Linked DNA regions of Homo sapiens: regions 2 and 3 are each linked to region 1. Evidence: promoter capture Hi-C in 16 types of primary human blood cells and fetal thymus (Javierre and others, 2016). All regions are on one chromosome and are shown on one strand. The core of a region is centred on a gene start or on the middle of the fragment in contact, and the rest is flanking DNA. Distances in the headings are between cores, read along the strand shown.

Region 1 (3,517 bases), core at 341-2,840:
TCCCGAGTAGCTGGGACCACAGGCGCCCGCCACCACGCCCGGCTAATTTTTTGTGTTTTTAGTAGAGACGGGGTTTCACCGTGTCAGCCAGGATGGTCTCGATCTCCTGACCTCGTGATCCGCCCGCCTCGGCCTCCCAAAGGGCTAGGATTACAGGCGTGAGCCACCGCGCCCGGCCGCTACCATTTTTTAAGAAGTTACTACTCGCCAGGCGTTGTGTCAAGTGCTTTACCTTCATTATTTCACTTAATCTTCACAACAACCCGCTGAGGCATTACTGCCATTTTTCAGAAGAGTAGAAAGGGAACTATAGCTCAGAGATGTCTGGGTAAGTGACTCAAATGTAGGTCTGCCTGACTCCTAACATCAATGATCTTAACCTTAACTCTATAATAGCGTTTTACATTTGACAATTTGATTGCATTCAGTTTTTTTTTGTTTTGTTTTGTTTTTGAGACGGAGTCTCGCTCTGTCGCCCAGGCTGGAGTGCAGTGGCGCGACCTCCGCTCACTGCAAGCTCCGCCTCCTGGGTTCATGCCATTCTCCTGCCTCAGCCTCCCGAGTAGCAGGGACTATACGTGCCCGCCACGACGCCTGGCTAACTTTTGTATTTTGTTTAGTAGAGACGGGGTTTCACCGTGTTAGCCAGGATGGTCTCGATCTCCTGACCTCGTGATCCGCCCGCCTTGGCCTCCCAAAATGCTGGGATTACAGGCGTGAGCCACCGCACCCGGCCTGCATTGTTTACGCTGTCCCTTTTTTGTTTGTTTGTTTAAGGCGGTGGGGCTCTTGTTCGACTTTCTTTACTTCTGCTATAACTGCCACGATATTATCCATTCAATAACTGAAGCAATTAGAAAACATAAAATCTCTTTTGGAAAGCAGGCGGGGTTTAATGGGTAGCAACAAGTGAAACTGAGGCCCAGGGAGGGGAAGGTTCGGCGCCTGGGCCTCTGGGCCCTAAACCTGGACCTCTCCCGCCTCTGGGATTTGGACGACCCACCCTATCCCCACTCCGACGGGGACAAGCAAGGCTCAGAGTCAGGGAACCTCCCTTCTCCCGGTGCAGACAGGAAAACTGAGGTCCTGAGAGCGGATGGGACCTGGCCTGCCCACACCTCACTGCCAACTTAGAGGAGGGCGCATCCCTCTCGGGCCCTGCAGCGACCAGAGGTTTGCCAGAGGCAGATTCCCATCGCTCCAAGGCTCATTTCCTCCACTGAGAACTAAAATCAAGTGGGCCCTTAAGGGTACTCACCCGAAGCAGAAGGAGGTAGGAGGCGGACCTTGGACGGAAACTGAAGTACACCGGCCAATCAGAAGAGCCTGGTTACGCTTGGGCCCATCAATAGAATTCGGCAGAAGGATCTTCGACCCGCCTCAAAGGTGCGCGTCTCACACTGAAACGTCGCGAGATCTTCCCTCAAGCGGAACGATTGGCTGAAGGTCGGAAATTGAGAGTTACGCCCACGGTTTCTTCAGACCTCTGATTGGTCTTCCAGAGGAGAAGTCAACGAACGTCAACCGATTCCTTGGATGCCCATTGGTGGGCGGTGCGGGACTGGCGACGCGCGGGCCACAGCGCGGGCGTTCGAACTGGCGCTTGGCGGCGTTGCCATGGAGATGCGGCCTGGCCGCCGCCGGTGGCTCCCGGGTTGACGGGACTGTTAGGTTGCGGGCTTTGGGGCTCACTCCCGACGGCATTGTCTTCTCCTCTTCTCAGACAGGGCAGACCGAGGAGTTTGGACCGAGGTGAGAAAGGGCGGGGAGAATAGAGGAGGGGTAGGTCTGGTCCGGAACCGTGGCGCCTGCCCGCGGACACGGGTGCGCGTGACGTCGGCTGAGCGCGGGAGGAAACTGGCAGTTGTGAGGGAACCGAGAGTTGGCCCCTCTTGGCTCTTCCTAAAGTTCACCTACTTTCCTATCTTTCATCCCCATATCTCTGCCTTTTCTTCAGCAATTATCTTGAACGCCACTTCTCTCACTTTGGGAGACTAAACTCTTGAGTCCCAAAGCCTTCTTGCTTTTGAACCGATAAGCCTGACCGGCACCTCTTTTAGGGCATTTCTATTCGCCCTTGGGTTGTTTACTTCCGGGAAGCCCGTTCGCTTCCCTTTTCCCATAAAATTTTGAAGCCTTTGAGGTAAGGCAAGCATCGTTCACAATGTCTTGCACATAGTAGATTTTCAGGAAATATTTGTTGAGTTGAATTTAATTTACAAGAAATAGATTGGATTCCTCTTCATGCCCTGCCTTGTTGTCTCTCTGCTTCAGAGACGATTTTTTATTTCGAGGCTAGGGGGAGGCCACCCTAATCTTCAATGCAAAAGGACCTAAAAGTCCACACACAGTCCACAGCTGGCCTTTCTACTCTTTGTGAAAGGCTAAACTTTTTTGGATTGGTTGCTGCAACTCTTCCTGCATCTGTGGCTTTTAGCCTTGGTCTCCCAATAATTTTATTAGACTCCTTTTAGTCTTTGCTTAAAATAAACCATTCTGTTGCTGTATGCCAAGATAATTTATCTCCCTTTAGCTTCTTAGTGACCGGCAGCTATTGTCACATTTTAAGTGTGCTTTGGAAAATGTTTTAAAGCATCTTCTTTGTACTTGTATTCTACAAGTAGAGAGGCTTTGTAGTCTCTCTATTGAAGTGCATATAACAGCTGCTCAGGTGAACTCCATCTATTCATCAGGTGTCTATGATAGAATTGCGTTCCTAAGACTGTTTCGTTGTTAACTCATGGATTATATATTCACAGCCTGATTGTTGGTGTGATTGCTCCTTATATCAAATTCATAGCTCACTGGTGGCCTTAATAAAAGGAGTGAAAAAGTTCAGTACAGCAGCTATGTTCTTGTTACCCTTTTATAAAAGTTTGAAACACTACCTTATAGCTGTGACATGTAGTGGAAACCCACTACATGTGGGTTTGGCTTTGGCTCTGTCTCTGTCTCTAATTCACTGTGGGTGGCTTTGCAAGTCATTTAGTCCCTTTATTATTATTATTATTTTTTTTTTATTAGAGAAAATGTCTTGCTCTGTCACCCAGGCTGTAGTGCACTAGCATGATAATAGCTCACCGCAGCCTTGAACGCCTGAATCTAGCCCCTTTAGACCTCATTTTTTCCATCTGGAAAATCAAAGAATTGAATTAGATTAAAATTCCTGTGGCTCTACTCTCAAGTCAAGTAGTTGATGTCAGGTAGACCACACACTCTCAGCCTTCCAAAGACCATACAGACTTTTTTTTTAGCTGCTGAAAGTAGTAGTTACCATTTATTGAGTGTTCACCCCGTACAAAGCACTGTATCCAGGGCTTTATATGCATATTACATTTTTCTTAGTGTAGCACATTACTGCTAAGATAGCATTTTATTTAAAATTTGTGGTTTTATATTGTTAATGAAAATCTTTAGTTATTCAGAGTGTGTCCTTGGGGCAACCTAAGGTATGAGCCTCTCAGTTTTTAGTTTAGGGAGAACCACAGTTTCTTTCTCTGGGCTGCTCTTTTGTCGT
Region 2 (3,738 bases), core at 1,110-3,609, 510 kb after region 1:
AAGTTGCATGTTTTCTTAGTAATTTTAAATACCTCCATCTGAAAAGTATAGGGTAGGCTGACCACAAAAGATGAAGCCTAACAGTTGGTAGGGGTACCGCACTTACATAATATTCTAAAAACGTGCTTTTCCTAGGTACTCAGTGACTATATACAGTAGTGAATATTAAACATTCCTGTATCAATCCCATTTCCTACAAAGTTGACCTAATTTCAAGCATAAAACTGAGGTTTCCACCTTTAGAAGGGTAGAAAACAAGAGTTAAGTAATTGGGTAGTCCTAAAAATACACATCACAACTACATGACTAAGATACTCATTTAAAACTTGTGCCAAGATAACCCCTCCCTTCCAAACTAAAATTGACTCACTGGCCTATTTTACTTAATTTTGAAAATAAAAAAATAAAACTAAATGGATTCCTAAGCACTCATTTCCTCTCTCTGCCCCCATCATTTAAAATATTCAGACTTTCAATCTGTGATTCCTCCCTGCAAAAACACTCAAGTAAAAACAAAACAAAACAAACACTCATTATCTCCAAGTTAACTACCTTGGAGTTAAAAAAAAATCATTAGATTCTGGAATGATAACCACTGTTCTAAGACCATATAAAACAACAGAAACAATGTCTGTGGTCGCTAAGGAACCATACATCCCACCCAGAGAAACGATCTCGCCTCAGATGATACTTGTCATCTGTGAGACCACCCCTTTAGCTAGAGTTAACCACTTGAGCAGGTTTCAATTTTGTCTCTGAAAGTAGGAAGCTATCAGTCTCCCTACATGACTCGTTCCACCCTTTGTGGATACTTCTACCTGTAGAAAAAAAGGTTGGCAAACTTGGTGGCATGGTGAGGACAAAGGGCATTTTGAAAGAACCAGTGACTGAGGTAAGCAGAGAATGTGAACGGAAAGAGGGTTAAAGTTCCCCCAAATGGATAATGACAAGACGACGCGGGCACCCTTTTTTTTTTTTTTTTTTTTTTTACCACCCCTAGGGTCCCATTCTTCACCACCACCCATTGGAATGCAAAGTTGGCACTACCACTACCCAAGATGCCCAACAAATCCTCAAAATGTCAGGGCACTCGGCAGCTTCTGAAATGACAAGCTGGTGCCCCTCCCCCACCCCACCCCCACCCCCACCCCCCAAAAAAGAAAAGTCCAATCCAGTCGGTGCAGGTCACCCTGCCCTCTGGGGCAGTTCCAGCCTGCGCAGGGAGGGGTTCCGACCGGAGAACGAAAAAGCACAGATAGACCACCGCTCTTTCCACCCACCCTCAGCGGGGGAAACAAAGGCGGCCTCCTCCGCCCGTAGACACTACCCTAACCAGAGAGGCTCTCCGATTTCCCGGTGCAGCCTGCCCTCCCGCCCCCGCCCGAGCCCCCGCCCCCATGACAAAGAAAAGGCACTCGGCGAGCAAGGCCTTCCTGCCTCCAGGGATGGGGGAGGGGGCTGCACGGGTGAGAAGCCCCCTCCACTCGCCCGTGCTCATACTCCTGGTCCCAGGAACTGCAGAAAGCGGCGGGGAGCCGGAGGCCTCGGCCGCGGAAGCAGGGTCCGGGAGGAGGGTGAGGGTACCTTGAAGTAGCCGCCTTCGTAGAGGGTGTTGGGGGGTCCGAAGATGGCCACCTCCCAGTTGTAGAGGTCGGACTCGTCCACCAGGGTGATCCGGAAGCCCTCCACCGGTTCCTCCTGCAGGGATTTCAGCTCGAGCATCAGGGCCTTCTGCGAGCTGGTCATCTGCTGCTGGGCCATCGCGGCGGCGGCGGCGGCGGCGGCGCCGGGCCCGGGCCCCAGTCCTCACGCACCGGCCGGGCCGGACCAGGCCCCTCCCCTCCGCTCGCCCTCCGGCCGGGCAGCACCGGGCCCCGGTCTTCACACACCCGGCGGGCCAGACCAGGCCCCACACGGCCCGTGGGCCCGCCCGGGGTCCTCCTCACACACGACGCAGGCCGGGCCGGGCCCTTCTCCTCACACTCGGGCCGGGCGAGAGGAGAGGTCGAGGGAGTTAGGAGAATTCGCTACGGGTCCCGGTCCCGGGCCTCCCCCCCCCGGAGGGGGCCTCAACTTGGGGGGGGGGAGAGGAGGTGGAAGCGGAGGAAGGCGGCGGAGGGCCGGCGATGGTGAAGGGAGGGGGCCGGGCCGGCCCGGGAACGCCGCGCTCGCTCGCCCTCTCGTTCTCTTCGGGGGCCGCAGGGGCCGGAGGGCGCGCGGGGCAGGAGAGGGTGGGGGGAGAGCGGCGTGCGGGGGTCTCGCGGCGGTGGCGGCGGGGGCTGCGCGGGGGGAGGGGCGACGGCGGAGGAGGAGGAGAGCGAGAGCGCCTCGCGCCGCGGGAGCAACGGAGCCGAGAAGCAGGGAGGGAGGGAGGGAGGGAGAGAGGGAGGAGGGGCGCACGCCGGGTGCTGGGCGGCTCTCAGCGGCTGGCGGCCCGACGCGCGTGCGCGTGCCCCTCCCTCCCCTCCCCCCACCGTGCCTGGCTCTCCTCCACTACCACCTCCTCCTCCTCCCGTTTCCACGCCTCCTCTCGGTCTCCCGCGCGGTCGCGGCGCTTTGTGACGCTGGCGCGTGTCCCCCGCCCATAAAGATCCCAGAAGCAGCGGGGACCAAGGGCGGGCGCAGGGATTGCCGTGGCCCCAGAGTGACGGTTGTGCGGCTGGACGCCGCAGTTCCAAAGGCGTGCCCGGGAAGGGAACCCAGGTCTCCCGGCTCTCGGGGCCCTCCCCACTGTGGATCCAGGGGCCTCCGCAGCCATCCTGGGACGGGCCTGGTCGCTGCAGGCCCCTCCCCGTGACACCCAGTCTGCGGTCCCTCCACTTAGTAGCTACTTGATTAGGATGTGCTGACAATGTGGGTCTTTTCGGTGGGAACAGACCTTCCCGCAGGCCAGCCCACAGGCAAGTGTGCCCTTTGGCACGTTACTCACCCTGGGTGCGGCAGTTCCACGTGAGAAACGGGGTGAGACAAAAAGGTCAGCTTCTGCTTCCCTTCTTAACTACAAAGAGGAAGTTGTGAGGAAAAAGACAATAACAAACTGGGTCTCTAGCCCTTCTCATTGTGATTTGGGGCAAGTGCTCAGGCTGCCCTTCGCCTTCGCCATTTGTAAAATAAACTACTGTGGTTGAACTTAGGGGTCAAAGTTCCCTATAGGTGCTTGTGGCTTGAATGTCCACCCTGGAACTGAGGGACTTTCGAGATAATCATAACCGAAGTGAGATGTGGGGACAGTCTTTGGTCCCCCCGTGGTTCAGAATACAGTACTCCTTTCTCCTAGGAAGGCATGTCCTAGGATAACTGCCTAAAAAACATTTCCTAGAAAAGCCAGAATATTGTGAGAGTTCTACACACACAGTTTCGGAACTAGACAGATCTTGGTTCCAACCCTAGTTCCATTACTTCTCCCTGTATCATCAGTTTTTTGTTTTTTGGTTTTGTTTTGTTTGAGACAGGGTCTTGCTCTGTCACCCAGGCTGTAGCACAGTGGCGCGATCATGGCCCACTGCAACCTCCGCCTCCCAGGTTCAAGCGATTCTCCCACCTCAGCCTCCCAAGTAGCTAGGACTACAGGTGCATGCCTCCACACCCGGCTGTTTAATCAGCTTCTGTAAAAGGGGATTAATTATACCCAACACAAGCAATTGTAATGATTAAATGTATGTACAGCATTTAGCGTAGTGACTGGCACATGGTTAATGATTCATAGAAACTTGAAAGAAAAAAACTTTAAGGCATAGC
Region 3 (3,772 bases), core at 713-3,212, 860 kb after region 1:
TGGCGGGCGCCTGTAGTCCCAGCTACTTGGCAGGCTGAGGCAGGAGAATCACTTGAACCCGGGAGGTGGAGCTTGCAGTGAGCCGAGATCGTGCCACTGCACTCCGGCCTGGGCGACAGAGTGAGACTCTGTCTCAAAAAATAAATAAATAAATAAATAATAAATAATAAAAAAGCTATTGTATAAACTGACCTGCACTGTTTGAAGTCAGAATAGTGATTGTTGGGGGCAGAGTTACTAGAGGGCAGCATGAGGGGAGATTCTGAAGGTGCAGGAAATGTTCTGCTTATTTTCTGGGAGCTGACTATATGAGTATGTTTGGTTTGTTAGTATTCAAGCTTTACACTTGGGATATGTACATTTTTCCTTATGTATATTGTACTTCAATACAAATTTTTAGACTGGGCACGGTGGCTCACCCCTGTAATCCCAGCATTTTGGGAGACTGAGGAGGGCAGATCACTTGAGGCCAGAGTTTGAGATCAGGCTGGCCATCATGGTGAAACTCTGTCTCTACTAAAAATACAAAAATTGGCCTGGTGTGTTGGCGCATGCCTGTAATCCCAGCTACTTGGGAAGCTGAGCCACAATAATCAATTGAACCAGGAGGTGGATGTTGCAGTAAGCTGAGATCGACCCACTGCACTCTAGCCTGGGCAACAGAGGGACACTCACTCTCTCTCAAAAAAAAAAAAAAAAAAAAAAAAAAAAAATATATATATATATATATATATATATATATATATATATATTATATGGTAATAGTTGAATTTAGATGATCCTGCATTAGGAAATAAAATGAAACATATAACGGTTATTACTGGAATAACTGACAAAATTTAAAGATGGAATTTGTATACTAGTATTGAATCACGATTAAATTTCCTTAATTTCATAATCGGGCTGTGCTTACATAAGAGGTAGTCCTTGATCTTAGTAGATACATACCTAAGTATTTAGGGAGATGTGTGATTGGTTTTCAAATGGTTTTGCAAAATAATATGTAAATACATAGGTAAAGATAAACTTGGCAAAATAGTAACACTAAGTGAATCTAGGTGAAGAGTATATGCGCATTCATTATATTATTCTTGCAACATTTGTTTTAAATTTTTAATAGTTTAAAAATAGGCCGGGAGCAGTGGCTCAGGCCTGTAATCCCAGCATTTCGGGAGGCCAAGGTGGGCGGGTCACTGGCAGTCAGGAGTTTGAGACCAGCCTAGGCAACATGAGGAAACCCCATCTCTAGTGAAAATACAAAAATTAGACGGGTGTGATGGTACCTGCCTGTAATCCCAGCTCCTCAGGAGGCTGAGGCACGAGAATCGCTTGAGCCTGGGAGAGGGAGGATGCAGGGAGCTGAGATCGTGCCACTGCACTCCAGCCTGGGCGACAGAGCAAGACTACTCCAAAAATAAATAAATAAATAAATAAATAAATAAATAAATAAATAAATAAAAATAACTAAATTACTTGAAATTGTAATAAGCTAAGTAATAAGTAAAAACTGGAGAAAAGTCATAACAATAATTCGGGAACAAGATGATGTGACGGGCTAAACCTGGCAGTGAAGACACAGAAAAATGAATAAATTCAAGGTATGTTTTGGAGGTAGAACTGACAAGATTTGTTAACTGATAAGGTGTAGCAAATAAAGAAAAAGGGAGGAATAACTGCTGTAAACAAACCTGACCAAAAGGAACAAACTAGCTCCGCCCTTCCCGATTGCAGCCACGCGAAGGAAGTGAGGAAAAGAAAGCAAAGGCCTAGCTACGGGCAGGCTTCCGTTCTAGCGTCGCGAAGAGGCCGTAAAGCACAGAAACCCGTTTGTCCCCTCCCCTAATGGGCGGGCCTTGAGACTGCCCGGCCAATGGCAAGCGAGTAATCGACTGATAATCCAATAGCTCTGGAGTGGGTGGAGTCCTGAGGAATTGGGGTGGGCTGGACTTGGGCCTGGAGTTAGGCATTTCCGCCCACGTGGGAAGCTATGAGGTATAGACCCGGCTAGAATCTGAAGTGCGGGAGAGTGCTGGACCCTGAGTGATGGGGCCGGCGCCAGCTGGAGAGCAGCTTCGCGGAGCGACTGGAGAGCCAGAGGTGGGTTGAGCCATCGGGGAGGAACAGAGGCTCAATGTGCGCTCCCTTGGCTGCAGGGCCCGAGATGGCGTGATCTGACAGCTTGCGGGTGAAAGCCATGCCGGCGGCCCATTCTGGAGGATGTTTCCAGCCAGTGGCACTGAGACAGGGCTTGCTAGGGGTGATGGAACCTGGCAGTATTTGGTTAGAAGCAGTGAAGCCGGTAGAGCCTCTGCTCTCTTCTGGAGCTCTGCACCTCAAAGTTGAAGAGACCCACACTTGGGTCGTTTCTTTTATTTGGTGGTCCTTGACGATAAGCGGGATCTTCCTCCACAGAATTTGTGTCCAGTTCTGTGCTCCCCGCTGTAGCGGAGGGCATACGGTGCCTCTCCTGGAGCGCTCCAGTAAGGCTCTCTGGGATGAGAGGCATCGTGGAGCGGATGGGCCCACGGCTGTAGGGGAAAAGGTTTGGGATCCTGCACGCTTGCCTTTGAAGCCTGCTCATAGTACGGGTGTACCAGTTGTGGAACCTCGAGTGAATAGTGGGACTTCAAGTGTCTTCAAGAATTATTTTGAGGATTTAATGACTTGCTAAATGTGTCCTCTGGGGTCCAGTCGGTTCTAGCTCCTTCCATCAGTGAGTATTTAGTGTAAACTGAGGCAGTCAGGTCTTCCTAGAGGAGGTGGAACCTGGCAGGATTTGGTTGGAGCGAGAATGGGAAAGACATTTGAGAAGTCCCAGGCCTATATCAGCAGAAGAGGAAACTTCCTGAAAATACAAGGGGCCTGGGCATTACTTAGGGCAGGGCTCAGTCAGCTTCTTTTTTTTTTTTTTTTTTTTGACAGTCTTGCTCTGTTGCCCAGGCTAGAATGCAATGGCACGATCTCGGCTCACTTCAGCCTCTGCCTCCTGGGTTCAAGTGATTTTCCTGCCTCAGTCTCCCGCGTAGCTGAGATTACAGGCATGTGCCACCACACCTGGCTAATTTTTGTATTTTTAATAGAGACGGAGTTTCCCCATGTTGGCCAGGCTGATTTCGAACTCCTGACTTCAGCTGATCCGCCCAGCTCCACCTCCCAAACTGCTGGGATTACAGGCGTCAGCCACCGTGTCCAGCCTGGGCCCAGTCAGCTTCTATCACTACCAATTCCAAACAGAGCTCCATGCTTGTGGTGTCAGGTAGACAGGAGAGCTCTTAACTCAAGGAATTTTCGGCTCAGCGCTCAGTGATGTTCATCCAAGTAACGATTCTCCTGAGTTTTACAAAATCTGACTCCTACTCAAAAGAGGGACAGAGCAGGTGAAGCTTTTACCCACAACCTATCATGGTGGCACTTTAGGCAGCAGATGCTAGATACCTATTACCTCAAAATGGCTTCTCCCTCACTGGCCACAGGTGATGGAACCAGCCCTGGAAGGCACAGGCAAAGAGGGGAAGAAAGCATCCTCCAGGAAGCGTACATTGGCTGAACCTCCAGCGAAGGGCCTCCTGCAGCCAGTGAAGCTCAGCAGGGCAGAACTGTACAAGGAGCCTACCAATGAGGAGCTTAATCGCCTTCGGGAGACTGAGATCTTGTTCCACTCCAGCTTGCTTCGTTTACAGGTACTGTTGAGTGTCTGCAGCTTTTGTTCGAGGTGTGTACCTGGGACCCTGAGGCTGATGGACTGTCTTCTACCCTCTCTTACAGGTAGAGG

The links. Contacts are between HindIII fragments. The CHiCAGO score rates a contact against its expected background, and 5 or more counts as called.
Region 2: the fragment with the promoter of UBE2R2 here is called in contact with the fragment with the promoter of KIF24 in region 1 in 3 of 17 cell types (neutrophils, erythroblasts and total B cells); the score reaches 7.9 in neutrophils.
Region 3: the fragment with the promoter of NOL6 here is called in contact with the fragment with the promoter of KIF24 in region 1 in 1 of 17 cell types (neutrophils); the score reaches 5.1 in neutrophils.

What each region holds. Positions count from the first base shown.
Region 1 is chr9:34,327,341-34,330,857 of GRCh38, reverse strand. It overlaps KIF24 (kinesin family member 24), which reads left to right and starts at 1,590. Exons shown (of 13, transcript NM_194313.4): 1 at 1,590-1,752. It overlaps NUDT2 (nudix hydrolase 2), which reads right to left and starts at 1,289. Exons shown (of 5, transcript NM_001161.5): 1 at 1,259-1,289. RefSeq lists enhancers at 1,344-1,533, 1,069-1,576, 1,664-1,763, 1,864-1,923. The HindIII fragment of the contact is 30,936 bases long and covers 1-3,517 here.
Region 2 is chr9:33,815,781-33,819,518 of GRCh38, reverse strand. It overlaps UBE2R2 (ubiquitin conjugating enzyme E2 R2), which reads right to left and starts at 2,359. Exons shown (of 5, transcript NM_017811.4): 1 at 1,585-2,359. The coding sequence starts at 1,761. It overlaps UBE2R2-AS1 (UBE2R2 antisense RNA 1), which reads left to right and starts at 651. Exons shown (of 5, transcript NR_170204.1): 1 at 651-892. RefSeq lists silencers at 1,740-1,909, 1,980-2,189, 2,370-2,469 and an enhancer at 2,760-2,849. The HindIII fragment of the contact is 11,190 bases long and covers 1-3,738 here.
Region 3 is chr9:33,472,114-33,475,885 of GRCh38, reverse strand. It overlaps NOL6 (nucleolar protein 6), which reads left to right and starts at 1,962. Exons shown (of 26, transcript NM_022917.5): 1 at 1,962-2,097; 2 at 3,474-3,680; 3 at 3,766-3,772. The coding sequence starts at 2,044. LOC107987061 (a long non-coding RNA gene) reads right to left here and starts at 1,746. Exons shown (of 3, transcript XR_001746648.3): 1 at 1,689-1,746. RefSeq lists an enhancer at 2,011-2,350. The HindIII fragment of the contact is 3,045 bases long and covers 341-3,385 here.